6 separate regions of the Homo sapiens genome follow, and regions 1, 3, 4, 5 and 6 are each linked to region 2. Evidence: promoter capture Hi-C in 16 types of primary human blood cells and fetal thymus (Javierre and others, 2016). All regions are on one chromosome and are shown on one strand. The core of a region is centred on a gene start or on the middle of the fragment in contact, and the rest is flanking DNA. Distances in the headings are between cores, read along the strand shown.

Region 1 (3,072 bases), core at 314-2,813, 250 kb before region 2:
TGCCATGTCCTCCATTATAATTTCATTTCCATTGCACAGCATGACTTTTAAATAATTTAAAAAACATGTTCAAATACCTGTGGAGGCTGGCGTGGTGGCTCACACACCTGTAATCCCAGCACTTTGGGAGGCTGAGGCAGGAGGATCACCTGAGGTCAGGAGTTCGAGACCAGCCTGGCCAACATGGCGAAACCCCGTCTCTACTAAAAACACAAAAATTAGCCGCGCGCCTGTAATCCCAGCTACTCGGGAGGCTGTTGAGGCAGGAGGATCGTTTGAACCTGGGAGGCGGAGGTTGCAGGAACTGAGATTGTACCACTGCACTCCAGCCTGGGAGACACAGTGAGAAAACAACAATAACAAAATGCCTGTGGAACCAGTTGTTTCTGGGTTTAAACCACTGCTTAGTCACTAACTAGCGGTCTGACCTTTGGCAAGTTACTTAACCTCTCTGAGCCTTAGTTTCCTCATCTACTTGGGTTCAAATTTCAGCTCTACCACTTAACGTGTAACTGGACAAATTTTTTGATCCTAATTTTCCTCATTTGTAAAGTAGGGATAACAGTACCTACCTCACAGTCATGAGGAATAAATACTTCATGTAAAGTTCTTAGCACAGAGCCTGACACAGTCTCTTTCCAAAAACGTTAACTACTATCATAACCTTAACACCCGGACTCTGTTACTTGGTCCCTATCCTCAAGGTGCTCCAGAAACGCTCGCTGAGTTTAGGCGGGCCTAACTGCTCCGTGGAAGCAGGGAGGCCAGCAAAAGGAGCTGGCCCTTGAGTTAATTAGGTGGAATCGGGCGGGGTGGGAGGCTGTTTCCTCGCTGAGAACCTAACCAGACCAGGAGTTCCCAAGAGAAGGAGCTGCGAGGGCTCTGCACACCGTAATTCCTCAGCAACTTGGCTAGCTGCTTTTTTTTTTTTCCTGCTGTCGTGGTTTAGTCACGACAGGACCAAGCGGAGGTACGATGAACACCAGGAAGCTCAAAGCCTTTGGCAGACGGAGACAGGCCACACCCCAAAAAGACGGCAAGGCTCAAGCGCCTAAAGCTAGTTCTATCGTGAAATTTCCTAGAGTCTGTCGCGACGAAACACCGCCCACCGCAGACCCCATCGCCGTTCGCCAGTCTCCATCTTTAGAATTGAAAGAATGAGAGATGGCCAAAGGGGAATCCCGGTTTGGAGAGACTGGGGTACGGCGGCTGCCTGGGGACCAAAACGTCTCTAAGGTAAAGTTGCAGCCTGAAGCGATTTTTTGACCCCCGACACTTAATGGGCTGTCGAAGACCCGGATGTGTCTGGGACTGGCAGAGGTACCCATTAACGCGCCCCCGCTAGACCATCCCCCCTCCTCCGTTTATGATTGGGTTTTAAGCACGCCAATCATCACTTCTCCGGCCACTCATTCTTCAAGGGTGGGGTGAAGTCCCGGCATCTAGTCTTCTACTGGCATGGCCGAGAAGATGAGGGCGGGGTGGCCGGCTTAGGTCGCCCAATGGGCGTCGTGGCGTGTGGGTAAGGCGGAGCCGAGGCGCTTGGCAGCTGCCCAATCAGCGTCCTTGTTTGTGTGGTGCCGCCGCCGCCGGTGCAGCCGTCGCCGCCGCCGCTGCCCCCGTCTGTACCGCAGTGTCTGCTCCGCCCGCCCGCCCCGGTCCGGCCCGCCCCCCTCCCCTACCCCCGTCCCTAGTCCCGTCAGCAGGGTCTGGATCCCCTGTGCCGTCGCCTCTTCCTTTTTCGACGCCTCCGCCGCCGCCTGAGGAGGCGAGCTAGCCGGGAGTTACACCGCCACCGCCAGGTGAGGAGCTTTGGCCTAGGCCAGCCTGGCCGCCCGCCCGCCCGGGGGCGGTGAGGAGCGAGGAAGGGAAGGAGGCTGGGAGGAGGCAGTGGTGGCGGAGGTGGGGGAAGGGAAAGGTGGAGGGGCGGGGGGAGGGGAAGCGCCCGCGAGCCGACGCCCGCCCGCGCGCCCCCGCCTTGCGTCCCCCTCCCCCCACCCCGGCACGGCGCGCCCCCGCCTCGCGCTCCTTCTTCACCTCATCCTCTCCCCCCTTGGCGCGCGCGACCCGGTCTTTCACTTCGGCCTCGCGCGCCCCCAGCTCGTGTCCCTTCATTTCGTCTCCTTGTACTCTTTCTCCCCTCCCTCACGCCCCGTTTCCCCCGCCATCCCCGCTTTCACTCCCTGCCTCATGCCCGCCATGCTCCCCTCCTTTCCTCTCTAGCGCGCCCCCCCCTTTTTTTTTTTAACTCTCTCCACCCCCAGTGGTGCCCTCAGGGTGCGGGGGCCGCTCCCTGCTCAGTCTTGTGTTTGCGGGCGGATGGGACGAATGGGGAATCTAAGGGTAAAGGAAGCACCAGATAATTATCTTTATTTAGGGAAAGGGATCAGGAGCGCATAACCTTACCCCTTTATTTCGTCGTCCACCGTTCGCTCGCCCTCCCGTAGGGGAAGAGAATTGTCTCAGGCTATGTGGGCACTTAGCTTCTACAGCGACTGGGCTTGTGGGACACACTGGATCTGTCTTCCAGTTCAGTTCCTGAGGGTCGGTGGAACTTACCCTTCCCTAACCACACCGGGACTTAGAGTACTTTTGGCCTCCCTGCTCTCAATTACATTGAGGAGCGAGCCACTCATGCGAGTGCAGAGGTTCAGGTGCCATTCGCGCGCCCGGTACAGCTTTCCCGTTTCATAAAGGTATGGTAGCCTCTTTGGATTCTTCCCCAGCATCAACTTCCAAACACAAGATGTTAGCTCATAGGGCTGGCAGTGAGGTGGAGATGGAGGCTTGGTGGTGGGTGGCATGTGGATGCTAACTGAGCTAGCTAGCAACCTTTTCTCTGTTGTCCCCTGGAAAATCAGGTAGCCTCCTGAGAACCAGTTTTCTCATTTCTGATAAATGCTTATTTGGGGGGCGTGTGTGTGTGCGTGTGTGTGTGTGTAAGAGAGAGAGAGAGATGGGGGGATACTTAATACATTTCAGCAGAGGCGAAGGATACTTAATATATTTCAGCAAAGGGCAAGAGCAGTGTTTTCAGGCCAGACTGCAAAAGAGGGATTTGGATTTGTAGCT
Region 2 (2,911 bases), core at 204-2,703:
GGTGCACCACTGCACTCCAGCCTGGGCAACAGAGTGAGACCCTGTGTCTAAATAAAATGAAATAATAGAAGAGAGGGTAAGAGACAAAGAGATTACTGGGGGAAAAGTCTAACCCGTCTTTATTTGGAGTTCAGGAACGAGGGAAATAATAGGTAAAACTAATACTTGAAGAGATAATAGCTGATAAATTTAATAAATGGACGACAAACCTGAAGCCATTGATTCAAGAAGCTCAACAAACCTCAAGTAAGATTTTTTTTTTTTTAAACGGAGTCTCCCTCTATCGCCCAGGCTGGGGTGCAGTGGCGCCATCTCAGCTCACTGCAACCTCCGCCTCCCGGATTCAAGAGATTCTCCTGCCTCAGCCTCCTGAGTAACTGGAATTACAGGCGCCCGCCAGCACGCCGGCTAATTTTTGTATTTTTAGTAGAGACGGAGTTTCACCATGTTGGCCAGGCTGATCTCGAACTCCTGACCTCGGGTGATCCACCCGTCTCGGCCTCCCACAGTGCTGGGTGGCCACAAGCCACCGCACTCGGTCCGCTTTTTGTTTGCTTGTTTTTTAAAAATTAATAATATTTATTTTAATCTGGATGGTGGTTACGTGGCCAGAATACGTTTAGACTTAAGATGTTTACGTTCTGCTGTAGTAAATTAAATATCGAAAAAGTACTTATGGAAGGGAGGTAGGTGAGGGATAAAAGTCTACAAGTTGGGTTCAGTGTATACTGCTCGGGTGATGAGTGCACCAAAATCTCACAAATCACCACTAAAGAATTTATGTAACCAAGCTGGGCGCTGTGGCTCACGCCGGTAATCCCAGCACTTTCGGAAGCTGAGGCGGGTGGATCACCTGTTTCCATGGACATGGAAAACCATGTTTTCCACACTAATTCAATCAATATACTCCTCTCCTATCTAAAACCTGTTTCTCCTGCTTCGAGTTTGTAGACGTGCAGTGTTCATAGTTGCCTAAACTCCCTTTTCCCCATCAACTTCAACTGCTAGTGGCAAAAATAGCTGATATTGGTTGCATTTTTGAGGTAGGAAAATTGGCAAGATATTTTCCTTCACTAAAGAAACGTAGATTACGTATGCCGTACAGGGCAATGAAAAAACTCCGATAGCAGAGGATGGTTTCGATCCATCGACCTCTGGGTTATGGGCCCAGCACGCTTCCGCTGCGCCACTCTGCTATCTAGAACTAAAATTTCTCATGATTGTTATAGAACACTACGTAGTCGTTGTCCTGACTTCTTTAGTGCCACCTAATGTCTGATCAAAAATTCGTCATTACTATAGAACCAGTTCTTATTGGCTAGTTCCTGACACAGTAGGCGTTTTTTATTGGTTCATAAGCCCGGTTTGACAAAGTAAGCCAATAGGCATAAGCGATGGGGTAAGGCGGGAGCCAATCGCACCGGGTTTTATTGGGACACGCCGGCAAGACGCCTCTTCAGTTGTCTGCTACTCAGAGGAAGGGGCGGTTGGTGCGGCCTCCATTGTTCGTGTTTTAAGGCGCCATGAGGTAAGTGGGTCGAAGCGGTCGAAAGGTTTCAGGTATTCGACGGAAAACTTTGTGAACGTGGGCCGAAAGAAGTCGGAGTATCAGAAAGGGCCATGTATCCGGGGGCTGGCCAAAAACCTGAGAACTCCTGGTCTAGGATAGTGGGAGAGATGGAGGCCGGTAGAGGCGGGGAAACTTGGGCCCGGGATGGGGTTCGGGCCCAGGAGTGGGGAGGGGGGTTCGACACCTTTGTCTCTGAAGGGTTGCGATGAGGGGGTGTCCTCAAGCCCCTGGAGGAGCTCCCCACCTTTCCCCCGCCCCCGTCATCCGGGCTGAGAATGCTGGAGCGAGCCGCATTCATCCTCAGTGCGAAGGCCTTGACATTAGGACACGCCCGATAAATGTGTACCTTAGTGAAGAAATGAGCAATCTTTAGCCTCCGAAGTATTAGGATTCGTGTGGCCCAGGATTATGGGTTATTAAGTGTAGGGCTCACTGAGCCCCATCATTACTTGATGGGGGTTGGATTAACTTAGAGGAGGTTATGGGGGTGTAACTGGGCACCATTTGGAATGGGGACAAGTGTAAGTGTGAGTGGGGTCTCTTGCCTACCGTTGGGAGGTTCCGAGGGATGAAAGTAGCCAACCTAAGATGATATGGCCGGTGGGTATTCCTTCAATGAGGTCAAAATAAAATCTGCATTTCTAGGGGTGACAGAGGCCGTGGTCGTGGTGGGCGCTTTGGTTCCAGAGGAGGCCCAGGAGGAGGGTGAGTACCAGCTTTTAGCATCTCTGCACTTGGTTGTTAGTTTCTGCTTGTCATCTAAATAGGAGTTTTAGAGTAGACTAATGTCACTTGGTTTTGCGAGAGCCAACTGTGGTCTTTTCCTGCACTCCTGTTAAATGAATTTGGCCCCACTATGCTAAGAATGATTCTTTCCCTCCCCGGAGACTTTGTCACTCATTCTGAGGACTGACATGTTTTCAAAATTGTTGGCGTGTTATTTACATCTCGCTTGATTCCTACCTAGGGAATAATTTGGCTGTTTTTCATGTTTTAGGTTCAGGCCCTTTGTACCACATATCCCATTTGACTTCTATTTGGTGAGTACCTTGGGTTAATGATACACATTTTCTGGTCACTGTTGAAATGGAGCCCAGTATCTCCCAGTTAATGAAGTTAGATGGTGGTTGAAGAGGGCAGACACAGTGCCTCACGCCTGTAATCTCAGCACTTTGGGAGGCCGAGGCAGATGGATTACCTGAAGGTCAGGAGTTTGAGACTAGCCTGGCCAATATGGTGAAACCCCGTCTCTACTAAAAATAAAAAAGTTGGCTGGGCATGTGTCTAATCCCAGCTACTTGGGAGGCTGAAGCAGGAGAATTGCTTGAACCCGGGACGCGG
Region 3 (2,724 bases), core at 189-2,688, 220 kb before region 2:
CTGGGATTACAGATGTGAGCCGGCCCGTGCCCAGCTGGGATAAACTTTTTAAGGTGAACATTTACTGCCCTGTAAAATGATAAGCCTGCCTACTATACCAAATCCTCGTAACAACAGTCAGAATTTTGACAAATCTTTATGTCACTGAATTGAAGAAAAGTGTCACTGTTTTTCCTGTAGGTTCCATGTGCTCATCAATGCTAATGGGCAAATCTCAGCTAATAGACTGCTAGAAGTTTCCTCTAGGTAAAATCCAGACCAGACAAGTTTTTCCTCTTGTACTGTGTTTAGGTACAGCCTCACAGAACTTGATCCACTCCTCTGCATGAATATTTTCTTCCCTCATTTCAATAAAGAAGATTTCTTGGCCGGGCGCAGTGGCTCACACCTATAATCCCAGCACTTTGGGAGGCCGAGGCGGGTGGATCACGAGGTCAGGAGTTCAAGATCAGCTTGGCCAACATTGTGAAACCCCGTCTCTACTAAAAATACAAAAATTAGCCAGGCGTGGTGGCACGTGCCTGTAGTCCCAGCTACTTGGGAGGCGGAGGTAGGATAATTGCCCGAACCCGGGAGGCAGAGGTTGCAATAAGCCAAGATGGCACAACTGCACTCCAGCCTGGGTGACACAGGGAGACTGTCTCAAAAAAAAAAAAAAAAAAAAAAGGTTTCTTACAAGTCTACTGGATACTGTCTAATGTTGGGCCCATTTTGATGACAAAATTATTTTATAATATTGTTGGACAGAAGCGATGAATGTCCAGAATTTCACATTGGCATATCTTATCCATCAATTCTGATTTTAAACTCCTTGACCATTTACTAGTCAATTGTTATGAGCAGCTATGTATTCATGTATCCCTCTACAGTCTAGAGAGTTCTAGGTGAGTGATGATGCTTTGACCCTGAAAGACCCCTTTACTTATCAGTTTATTTATTTTTCCCTTGGATTCAATAGGAGGGAATACTTATTAGTATGTTTAATATTTGGTCAGCTAGATCTTTTTTCCTAGATATCTGATCTTTAGCCTTTAGTGTGTCTTACCTTAACTAGTGGTAGTGTTCTATATACTATAATAGTCTTGTTACCTGTTTTACTCTTGAGTTTTGTGAGTGACTTATGCTGCTTCTAGCTAGGCCTGGGGATTCTGTCCCTAATTGTCTTGTCTTTTCTTTTTTTTTTTTTTTTTTTTTTGAGACGGAGTCTCACTCTGTTGCCAGGCTAGAGTGCAGTGAAATGATCTCGGCTCACTGCAACCTCCGCCTCCTGGGTTTAAGCAATTCTCCTGCCTCAGCCTCCCGAGTAGCTGGGACTACAGGCGTCTGCCACCGCCATGCCTGGCTAATTTTTGTGTTTTTAGTAGATACGGGGCTTCACCATGTTGGCCAGGATGGTCTCGATTTCTTGACCTCATGATCCGCCCGCCTCAGCCTCCCAAAGTGCTAGGATTACAGGCATGAGCCACTGCACCCGGCCATAAACTCTGTCCCTAATTTTCATTGTGCTTATGTCTTTTAGTAATTATGTTAAATCTAGCCATTCCTTTTATTTTTAAATTTTAGTCAGTTTTTGGATAGGTGATATATGCACATGGTACAGAATTTACAATTGGAAAAAGTTTACAGTAAAAAAGGACATCTCTTTCTTTGGAGACAGAACTTAATCTACTTCTTTTCCCTCCCCTCCCCCCCCCCCATACTTACCTCCTCTTACCCTTCCCCTCTCCTTTTTCCTTCCCTTTGCCTCTCCCCCCCACCTCTTTTTTTTTTTTTTTTTTTTTTTTAAACGAGACAGAGTTTCACTTTTGTTGCCCAGGCTGGAGTGCAGTGGCACGATCTCAGCTCACTACAAACTCTGCCTCCTGGGCTCAAGCAGTTCTCCTGCCTCAACCTCCCAAGTAGCTGGGATTTACAGGTGCCCGCCACCACACCTAGCTAATTTTTTATATTTTGAGTAGGGATGGGGTTTCACCATGCTGGCCAGGCTGGTCTTGAACTGCTGACCTCAAGTGACCCACCCACCTTGGCCTCCCAAAATGCTGGGATTACTGGCATGAACCACCACTCCCGGCTGCCTTCCCTTTTTTCTTCCCTTTCCTTTTTTTTTCACCTCTTTCTTTCCTTTCCCTTCCCTTTTTCCTTTCCTTTCTTTTCCTTTTTTATTTGTGTGTTTCTTTGAGGCGGAATCTCGCTGTCGCCCAGGCTGGAGTGCAATGGTGCGATCTCAGCTCACTGCAAACTCCGCCTCCCAGGTTCAAGCAGTTCTCCTTCCTCAGCCTCCTGAGTAGTTGGGATTACAGGTGCCCACCACCACACCTGGCTAATTTTTGTATTTTTAGTAGAGACGGGGTTTTGCCATGTTGGTCAGGCTGGTCTTGAACTCCTGACCTCAGGTGATCCTCCCACCTCGGCCTCCCAAAGCGCTGGGATTATAGGTGTGAGCCACCGCACCTGTCGGCACATTTTATTAAAGAAAAACTTTGCATGGTTTACTTTTTGCCAGTCTGTTCTGGCATGCGTTTAATGATAGCAGAATCACCTGGGTTAACGATAGCCAGTGTACAAACTCTGTAGTATTTTCTACATGCCTTACAGTTATTGTCACTGTAATGATGGATGCCAGTTTTGGCCAACATGGTGTTTAGTACTCTGTTTTGGATTTCCTTAAAGATGGGCAGTTGGTGAGGATGACCAATTTCACTTTAAATAAGTTGGAGCCTAGAG
Region 4 (3,018 bases), core at 106-2,605, 180 kb before region 2:
CATATGACCCCATGTCCTCAGCCCATGTCAGTACAAAGGACCAGTGTCCTACTTGAAGTCTGTGTGTGAGATGGCAGGGAAGGGTGTGAAGACCATCACCTCGGTGGCCATGACCAGTGTGCTCTGCCCATCATCCAGAAGCTAGAGCTGCAAATTGCAGTTGCCAATATCCGTGTCTGTAAGGGGCTAGACAGGATTGAGGAGAGACTGCCTATTCTGAATCAGCCATCAACTCAGGTTGTTGCCAATGCCAAAGGTGCTGTGACTGGGGCAAAAGATGCTGTGACGACTACTGTGACTGGGGCCAAGGATTCATCACAGGGTTGATGGACAAGACCAAAGGGGTAGTGACTGGCACTGTGGAGAAGACCCAAGTCTGTGTCAGTGGCAGCATTAACACAAGCTTAGGAAGTCAGATAATGCAGCTCATGAGCAGTGGCTTGGAACATGCGCTCACCAAATCAGAGCTCTTGGTAGGACAGTACCTCCCTCTCACTGGGGAAGAACTAGAAAAAGAAGCAAAAAAAGTTGAAGGATATGATATGGTTCAGAAGCCAAGTTGTTATGTTAGACTGGGATCCCTGTCTACCAAGCTTCACTCCCTGTCTACCAAGCTTCACTTCGTATGAGCAGGCTCTCAGCAGGGTTAAAGAAGCTAAGCAAAAAAGCCAAGAGACCATTTCTCAGCTCCGTTCTTCTGTTCACTTGATTGAATTTGCCAGGAAGAGTGTGCATAGTGCCAATCAGAAAATTCAGGATGCTCAGGATAAGCTCTAGCTCTCATGGGTGGAGTGGAAAAGGAATATTGGATACGATGATACTGATGAGTCCCACTGTGCAGAGCACATCGAGTCACGTACTCTTGCTATTGCCTGCAACCTGACTTAGCAGCTCCAGACCACATGCCACGGCCTTCTGTCCAACATCCATGATGACCACAGAACATCCAAGGTCAGGCCAAGCATATGAGGGTGATGGCAGGCGACATCTACTCAGTGTTCTGCAATGCTGCCTCCTTTGAGGAAGTGTCTGACAGCCTCCACTTCTAGCAAGGGGCAGCTGCAGAAAATGAAGGAATCTTTAGATGACTTGATGGATTTCTTGTTAACAACATGCCCCTCAACTGGCTGGTAGGTCCCTTTCACCCTCAACTGACTGAGTCTCAGAATGCTTAGGACCAAAGTGCAGAGATGGACAAGAGCAGCCAGGAGGCCCAGCGATCTGAGCACAAAACTCATTAAACTTGCCCCTGTCACCAGTGAATGATGCGGCCAGCCAGTTAACACCTTTCGTTATGTTGAAATTAACCCTGCTAGGCAACCCTAAATTGGGAAGCAAGTAGCTAGTAAAAAGGCCCTCAATTATAGTTATTTCCAGCTGGATTAAGAGCTTTAAAGTTTCTGGCTTTAGCAGATGATTTCTGTTCACCTGGTAAGAAAAGAATGCTAGGCTTGTTAGAGCCTAGCCAGAACTCACAAAAAATTCAAGTGCACTTATGTTCTCATTCTGTGGCCATTGTGTTACCCTCTGTTACTGTTTGTGTTGAATAAAAACATCTTCATGCGGGCTGGGGTAGAAACTGGTGTCTGCTCTGGTATGATCTGAGCAGGCCTCTTTACTGATTTATCTCATGATGATTGCTTGTACAACTTGATTTTAGTTTTTTATTTCTCAAATAGGAATACTACCTTTGAATTCAATATAATTCACTGTAAGATTAAAAAAAAAATGGACAAAGGACCTGAATAGACATTCTCCAAAGAAGACATAAAAGTGGCCAAGTATATGAAAAATTGCTCAACATTGCTAATCATCAGAGAAGTACACATCAAAACCACAATGAAATATCATCACTTCACACCTGTCAATGTCAAGATGGCTATTTTTTTTAAGTGGCAAGGGAGTGAAGAAATTGGAACCCTTGCACACTGTTGGTGGGAATGCAAAATGGTACAAGCGGCCACTATGGAAAACAGTATGGAGGTTCCTTGACATATTAAATATAGAACTACCAGATGGTCTAGCAATCATGCTTCTAGATATTTATCCAAAATAAAATCAGGATCCCAAAGAGTGACAACATGGATGAAGCTTGAGGACATTATGCTAAGGGAAATAATACAGTCACAGAAAGATAAATAACTATGTGAGTCTACTTATGTGAGGTATCTAGTCAGATTCATAGGTTGACAGAGTCAAATGGTGGTTGCCAAAGGCTGAGGGGGAGGAGAAATTGGGGAGTTGCTAAACAATGTATGTAAAATTAATGTCAAACGGGAAAAAGCTCTAGAGATCTGCCATACAACACTGTACCTATAGTCAACATTAATGTATTGTACACTTGAAAATTTGTTAAGAGGGTAGATCTTGTGTTAAGTGTTTTTACCACAATAAAACAAAAAAAAACTTTTTTTTTTTTGAGGTGGAGTCTTGCTCTGTCACCCAGGCTGTAGTGTAGTGGCGCGTTCCCGGCTCACTGCAACCTCCGCCTCCTAGGTTCAAGCGATTCTCCTGCCGCAGCCTCCTGAGTAGCTGAGATTATAGGCGCACACCACCACGCCTGGCTAATTTTTGTTTATTTAGTAGAGACGAAGTTTCACTATGTTGGCCAGGCTGGTCTCAAACTCCTTCACCTCAAGCAATCCGCCTGCGTAGGCCTCCCAAAGTGCTGGGATTACAGGTGTGAGCCACCGCACCTGGCCAACAAACAATTTTTTAAAAATTAAGTATGGGCTTATTAGGCTGAGCGCAGTGGCTCACACCTGTAATCCCAGCATTTTGGGAGGCTGATGTGGGCGGATCACTTGAGGTCAGGAGTTCGAGACCACCCTCGCCAACATAGTGATACCTGGTCTCTACTGAAAATACAAAAATTAGCTGGGTATGGTGGCGGATGCCTGTAATCCCAGCTACTCAGGAGGCTGAGGCAGGAGGATCACTTGAACCCGGGAGGTGAAGGCTGCAGTGAGCCAAGTTTGTGCCACTGCATTGCAGCCTGGGCAACAGAGTGAGACTCTG
Region 5 (2,892 bases), core at 76-2,575, 140 kb before region 2:
ATCTAGGCAAAAGCTGTGCCTCACTTCTGCGGGTTGAACCCTTTGTATGTGCCCAGTGCCGCACAGATTTCACCCCTCACTGGAAGCAAGAAAAGAATGGTAAGATTCTATGTGAGCAGTGTATGACCTCCAACCAGAAAAAGGCTCTAAAAGCTGAACACACCAACCGGCTGAAAAATGCATTTGTGAAAGCCCTACAGCAGGAACAGGTAAGAATTCTGACTGCTCACTGGCCACCTGTCCCAGTTTGTTTTTTCCAAAGGGTCGCGCCTTCTAGTTTGCAGGAGTGGTTCATGTGATCCCTACAGGTCCACAGGTTCCCTTTTTGTCTCCTTATCATTGTGTCCTATTTCCATTTGAGCGAGTATTCTGATTAAGAACATGGTAAAATATAATGGCTGAGGTTAACAGAAAGGGACAGAAAGCTTGGGACTCTTGGCTTTTCCATAGCACTCTATTCTCATCTTCATTTTTTCCTAAAACAAATAATAGATTTTGGTGGGAGGAATTTATATTTGTGCTATAAATCTCTTTGAAACAGTTATTTGCAGTGCGTGTTTGATAAGAAATGACGAAAGAAAGAGTGAATTATGAAGTAGCCCAGTGAAGAGTAGTGGTTCTAGAGTATGTGAACATCTCATGTAGCAGTTATAGGATGAGAATATCTTAGAGAAGGAAAAATGTGTTGGGAAACTCAGATCCTTTTCTTCCTATTTCCCACTCCACCCATCAGAGTCCCTTGTTTGAGTAGCATCATGGACTTTTTGGAAGATCGGGTAGGCAGGAGTCAAAAATAAAACCCCATTTATGCTCTAGGACTGGTGGTAAAAAATAAATAAATAAAAATTTTTAAAAAGAGAAAAGAAAAAGTGATAAAATAAAACCCCAGTAATTCATCAGCCTTAATTATATCAGTTGGTTCATCACCTCCAGCCAACTTCTTAGAGCCAGCTTTCCTGGAGAAAGAGAGGAGGATCCCTTGATCATTGAAGCAAGTTAGCTGCTTATACCCAGAAATCTCAGTGTACCACCCCCACCAAACTCTTTTGCCTTTTCCATATTCCACCAACTAGCCAACAACATTAGAGGTAAGAACACCTCCAGGTTTTCTGGTTAGGAAATTGGGTGGGCCAGGTGCAGTGATTCATGCCTGTAATCCCAGCACTTTGGGGAGGCTAAGGTGAGAGGATTGCTTGAGCCCAGGAGTGCCAGACCAGCCTGGGCAACAAAGTCAGATTGTGTCTCTGTTTAAAAAAAAAAAAAAAAAAGGAAATTGGGTATTGGGTGCTGTCCTGCTCAATCACCTGATGTGATGACTCCCAACAGGAAATTGAACAGCGATTACAGCAGCAGGCAGCCCTCTCCCCCACTACGGCTCCAGCTGTGTCCAGTGTCAGTAAACAAGAGACCATCATGAGACATCATACGCTTCGGCAGGTAAGGAACTTTTTGCCTGATCCTGATTTCTTTAGAAGATTTATCAGCCATTTATCACAATTTGTCCTTTCTATTGTGGGAAATCATAGTCTTCTTCTGTACTCCCTTATCTTTGCCCCCGCTTAACATTCTATCATATCAAAGTTGTATCCACTGTCTCCTCATCATTGCAGGCTCCACAGCCCCAGAGCAGCCTCCAGCGTGGCATACCCACATCTGCCCGCTCCATGCTTTCAAACTTTGCACAGGCACCCCAGTTGTCTGTGCCAGGTGGCCTCCTTGGTATGCCAGGTAAGAAGGATTAATCTGAAAATGTTTCTCATGGGTCAGCTGTTAGTTAGTATACAGTTCTGTAGCAGCCCCTTTAAGGGAATTGTTCCTTTACTTTCTGTTCTTTCTTTAGGGCATACACTCTCACTCTTCTGTTACTCAGCAAATGTTTGCTAAATTCATATTAAGTGCCACCCACAATGCACTAGGGTTTTGGTGGTGAAAATGACCCAGATCCTACCATTATCAATTTAACTTTTAATATCCCTTCAGTAGACATGTGGTTATTGATCTCTTTTGGCCGGGACAGCAGGGTTAACTGTTCTGTTTGAATGATCCAGGGATGCTTCTGCACAATCTGCAGCCTCAAAATCAAAGCTGATTTAATGATTCTATCTCTCTGTCTTATTCATCTTCCTCTCACCACTGTTTCACTTGTCTCTCCCATACCATCAGAAGCATGTTCATTATTCTTGGTAGGACCGAAATTTCAGGAAGTCCCCTTTTCCTAAAGCTTAGGAATATGAGTGGGGATTGAAATAAAGTTGCTGTGCAGGGCGCGGTGGCTCACACCTGTAATCCCAGCACTTTGAGAGGCCGAGGCAGGCGAATCACTTGAGATCAGGAGTTCAAGACCAGGCTGACCAACATGGTGAAACCCTGTCTCTACTAAAAATACAAAAAATTGGCTGGGCGTGGTGGCTCATGCCTATAATCCCAGCACTTTGGGAGGCCAAAGCGAGTGGATTACCTGAGGTCAGGAGTTCAAGACCACCCTGGCCAACATGATGAAACCCCATCTCTACTGAAAATACAAAAAATTAGCCCGGCGTGGTGGCTGGTGCCTGTAATCCCAGCTACTCGGGAGGCTGAGGCAGGAGAATCGCTTGAACTTGGGAGGTGGGGCTTGCAGTGAGCTGAGATTGTGCCACTGCACCTCCAGCCTGGGCAACGAGCGAAATTCTGTCTCAGATAAATAAGCAAACAAAATTAATTGGCTGGGTGCAGTGGGTCATGCCTGTAATCCCAGCACTTTGGGAGGCTGAGGCCGTTGGATCATTTGAGGTCAGGAGTTCAAGACTAGCCTGGCCAACATGGTGAAACCCCATCTCTACTAAAAATACAAAAAATAGCCGGGCAGTAGTGGCACGCGCCTATAATTCCAGCTACTCTGGAGGCTGAGGC
Region 6 (2,980 bases), core at 246-2,745, 160 kb before region 2:
ATAGATTGGTCAGAATTCTCAAGCTATCTATTAGGAAAGACTTACCTCAGACATTCAGGTATCTGGGTTCTGGTTTCTCACAACCTCTGATGGGTCAGTTTCTTTCTTGAATCATTAATGTATAGTAAGGGGAAATTATTTGACTTACTTTCAGCTGTTTGTATAATTGTCAATTCAAGGAGCCAAGGTAATGATGGCACCCCAAACTCTAGCTCTAGGTTATTGAATTTTGTTGTTTTGTCATATACTATCAGTGCACGTGAATATATCTCAAAACTTAGAATACTGTAGTATATCAACTTAAATGTGTATATCTTGCTATGTGTACTTAAGAGACAGGGTCTTGCTCTGTCACCCAGGCTGGAGTAGAGTGGCGCAATCATAGCTCACTGCAGCCTCAAACTCCTGGGCTCAAATGATCTTCCCACTTCAGTCACCATGCCTTTTTTTTTTAACTTTTTTAGGCTGGGTGCAGTGGCTCACGCCTGTAATCCCAGCACTTTGGGAGGCCAAGGTGGGCGGATCACTTGAGGTCAGGAGTTCAAGACTAGCCTGGCCAACATGGAGAAACCTCGTCTCTACTAAAAATACAAAAATTAGCCGAGTATGGTGGCGAACACCTGTAATCTCAGCTACTTGGAAGGCTGAGGCATGAGAATCACTTGAACCTGGGAGGCTTGCAGTGAGCCGAGGCTGTGCCACTGCACTCCAGCCTGGGTGACAGACTGTCTAAAAAAAAAAAAAAAAAAACAAATTTTTTTTTAGAGATGAGTCTCCCAGGATGGTCTCAAACTCTCAGCCTCCAATGATCCTCTTGTGTCACTGGGATTACACACACAAGCCACTGCCTTACTGTGTACTTTTCTAAAGTATAGACATACCTCAGAGATTTTGTATGTTCCATTCCAGACCACCACAATAAAGCAAATATTGCAATAAAGCAAGTCACACAAATTTTTTGGTTTCCCAGTGTATATAAAAGTTATGTTTAGGCCAGACGCAGTGGCTCACGCCTGTAATCCAAGCACTCTGGAAGGCTGAGGCGGGAGGATTGCTTGAAGTCAGGAGTTTGAGACCAGCCTGGTCAACATGGTGAAACCTTGTCTCTACTAAAAATACAAAAAGTAGCTGGGCATGGTGGTACGCGCCTGTAATCCCAGCTACTCAGGAGGCTGAGGCAGTAGAATCGCTTGAACTCAGGAGGCAGAGGTTGTAATGAACCGAGATCACGCCACTCCACTCCAGCCTGGACGACAGAGCAAGAGTCTGTCTCAAAAAAATAATAATAATAATAAAATAAAAGTTATGTTTACATTATGCTGTAGTCTATTAAGTGCAATAGGATTATGTCTAAGAAAACAATGAATACATCTTAAATAAAAAACACTTTCTTGCTAAAAAGTACTAACAATCATCTGAGCCTTCAGCAAGTCATTATCTTTTAGCTGGTAGAGTGTCTTGCCTCCATGTGGATGACTGCTCACCCATTAGTGTGGTGGTTGCTGAAGGTTGGGGTAACCTGGCAATTTTTTTTTTTTTTTGAGATTACAGGCATGAGCCACTGCGCCTGCCCAACCTGGCAGTTTCTTAAAATAAGATGATGAAGTTTGCCACATGGATTGACTCTCCTTTCATGAAAGATTTTCATATAGCATGCGGTACTGTTTAATACCATTTTATCCACAGTAGAACTGCTTTCAACATTGGTGTCATTTCTTTCAAACCCTGCTGCTTTGTCAACTCAAGTTTATGGAATATTCTAAATCTTCTGGTGTCATTTCAACAGTGTTCACAGCATCTTACCAGGAGTAGATTCCATCTCAAGAAACCACTTTCTTTGCTCATCCATAAGAAGCAACTCCTTATCCATTCAAATTTTTGTTTTTTGTTTGTTTTTTAAAGAGACTCAGTTGTGGTCTGTCACCCAAGCTGGAGTGCAGTGGCATGATCGTAGCTCATTGTAGCCTCAAACTCCTGGGCTCATGCGATCCCCTCACCTCACTCTCCTGAGTGAGGTGCATGCCACCGTGCCCAACTAATTTTTTTTTTTATTTTCTGTAGAGATAGGGTCTCACTTTGTTGTCCAGGTTGGTCTCGAACTCCTGGGCTCAAGTGATCCTCCTGTCTCAGCCTCCCAAAGTGCTGGGATTACAGTGCTGGGATCCCAGCTGTGCCTTGCCCAGGCTCCCTTCTAATTGTAGTTTTCTTGCTGTTTCTACCACTTTTGCAGTCATTTCCTCCATTGAAACCTTGAACCTGTCAAAGGTCATGTATGAAAGTTATAATCAACTTCTTTCAAATTCCTGTTAGTGTTGATAGTTTTAGGCCGGGCGTGGTGGCTCATGCCTGTAATCCCAGCAATTTGGGAAGCCGAGGCAGGCAGATCACCTGAGGTCGGGAGTGCGAGACCAGCCTGACCAACATGGAGAAACCCTTTCTCTACTAAAAATACAAAATTAGCTGGGCCTGGGGTGGCACATGCCTGTAATCCCAGCTACTCGGGAGACTGAGGCAGGAGAATTGCTTGAACCTGGAAGGTGGAGGTGAGCTGAGATCGCACCATTGCACTCCAGCCTGGGCAACAAGAGCAAAACTCCGTCTTAAAAAAAAGAAAAAGAAAAGAAAAATGTTAATAGTTTTACTTCCTCCTGCAATGGTAAATAATTTCCAGGAGGTTTTTTAAATTTTTATTTTTATAGAGACAGGGTCTTGGCTGGGCGTGGTGGTCATGCCTGTAATCCCAGCACTTTGGGAGGCTGAGGTGGGCGGATCACGAGGTCAGGAGTTCGAGACCATCCTGGCTGACACGGTGAAACCCCATCTCTATAGCAAAAATACAAAAAATTAGCTGGGCGTGGTGGTGGGCGTTTGTAATCCCAGCTGCACGGAAGGCTGAGGCAGGAGAATGGCATGAACCCAGGAGGTGGAGGTTGCAGTGAACTGAGGTTGTGCCACTGCACTCCAGACTGGGCAACAGAGT

Evidence for each region. The method cuts DNA at HindIII sites, captures the fragments that hold promoters and counts their contacts. A CHiCAGO score of 5 or more calls a contact.
Region 1: the fragment with the promoter of GATAD2B here is called in contact with the fragment with the promoter of ILF2 in region 2 in 11 of 17 cell types (M2 macrophages, M1 macrophages, M0 macrophages and 8 more); the score reaches 15.3 in M2 macrophages.
Region 3: a fragment that was not itself captured here is called in contact with the fragment with the promoter of ILF2 in region 2 in 1 of 17 cell types (M2 macrophages); the score reaches 5.0 in M2 macrophages.
Region 4: a fragment that was not itself captured here is called in contact with the fragment with the promoter of ILF2 in region 2 in 5 of 17 cell types (M2 macrophages, M1 macrophages, naive B cells and 2 more); the score reaches 9.1 in M2 macrophages.
Region 5: a fragment that was not itself captured here is called in contact with the fragment with the promoter of ILF2 in region 2 in 4 of 17 cell types (M0 macrophages, M2 macrophages, M1 macrophages and 1 more); the score reaches 9.6 in M0 macrophages.
Region 6: a fragment that was not itself captured here is called in contact with the fragment with the promoter of ILF2 in region 2 in 1 of 17 cell types (M2 macrophages); the score reaches 5.3 in M2 macrophages.

What each region holds. Positions count from the first base shown.
Region 1 is chr1:153,921,463-153,924,534 of GRCh38, reverse strand. It overlaps GATAD2B (GATA zinc finger domain containing 2B), which reads left to right and starts at 1,563. Exons shown (of 11, transcript NM_020699.4): 1 at 1,563-1,802. LOC101928059 (a long non-coding RNA gene) reads right to left here and starts at 1,162. Exons shown (of 4, transcript XR_922160.3): 1 at 573-1,162. RefSeq lists silencers at 488-782, 1,460-1,779 and an enhancer at 1,090-1,329. The HindIII fragment of the contact is 8,959 bases long and covers 1-3,072 here.
Region 2 is chr1:153,669,535-153,672,445 of GRCh38, reverse strand. It overlaps ILF2 (interleukin enhancer binding factor 2), which reads left to right and starts at 1,453. Exons shown (of 14, transcript NM_004515.4): 1 at 1,453-1,528; 2 at 2,216-2,275; 3 at 2,568-2,610. The coding sequence starts at 1,524. It overlaps TRX-CAT1-1 (tRNA-iMet (anticodon CAT) 1-1), which reads right to left and starts at 1,196; the gene lies at 1,125-1,196. RefSeq lists enhancers at 184-233, 244-323, 874-1,013 and a silencer at 1,054-1,433. The HindIII fragment of the contact is 12,664 bases long and covers 1-2,911 here.
Region 3 is chr1:153,890,635-153,893,358 of GRCh38, reverse strand. All of the region lies in intron 1 of GATAD2B (GATA zinc finger domain containing 2B), which reads left to right. Among named protein-coding and RNA genes, the nearest start is that of GATAD2B, 31 kb to the left of the region's middle. The HindIII fragment of the contact is 4,322 bases long and covers 1-2,724 here.
Region 4 is chr1:153,850,322-153,853,339 of GRCh38, reverse strand. The region is part of intron 1 of GATAD2B (GATA zinc finger domain containing 2B); the gene reads left to right. It also overlaps the pseudogene LOC645965. Among named protein-coding and RNA genes, the nearest start is that of GATAD2B, 71 kb to the left of the region's middle. The HindIII fragment of the contact is 1,477 bases long and covers 617-2,093 here.
Region 5 is chr1:153,810,567-153,813,458 of GRCh38, reverse strand. GATAD2B (GATA zinc finger domain containing 2B) reads left to right here. Exons shown (of 11, transcript NM_020699.4): 8 at 7-209; 9 at 1,327-1,437; 10 at 1,611-1,728. Among named protein-coding and RNA genes, the nearest start is that of SLC27A3, 37 kb to the right of the region's middle. The HindIII fragment of the contact is 1,796 bases long and covers 428-2,223 here.
Region 6 is chr1:153,834,034-153,837,013 of GRCh38, reverse strand. All of the region lies in intron 1 of GATAD2B (GATA zinc finger domain containing 2B), which reads left to right. Among named protein-coding and RNA genes, the nearest start is that of SLC27A3, 60 kb to the right of the region's middle. The HindIII fragment of the contact is 5,159 bases long and covers 1-2,980 here.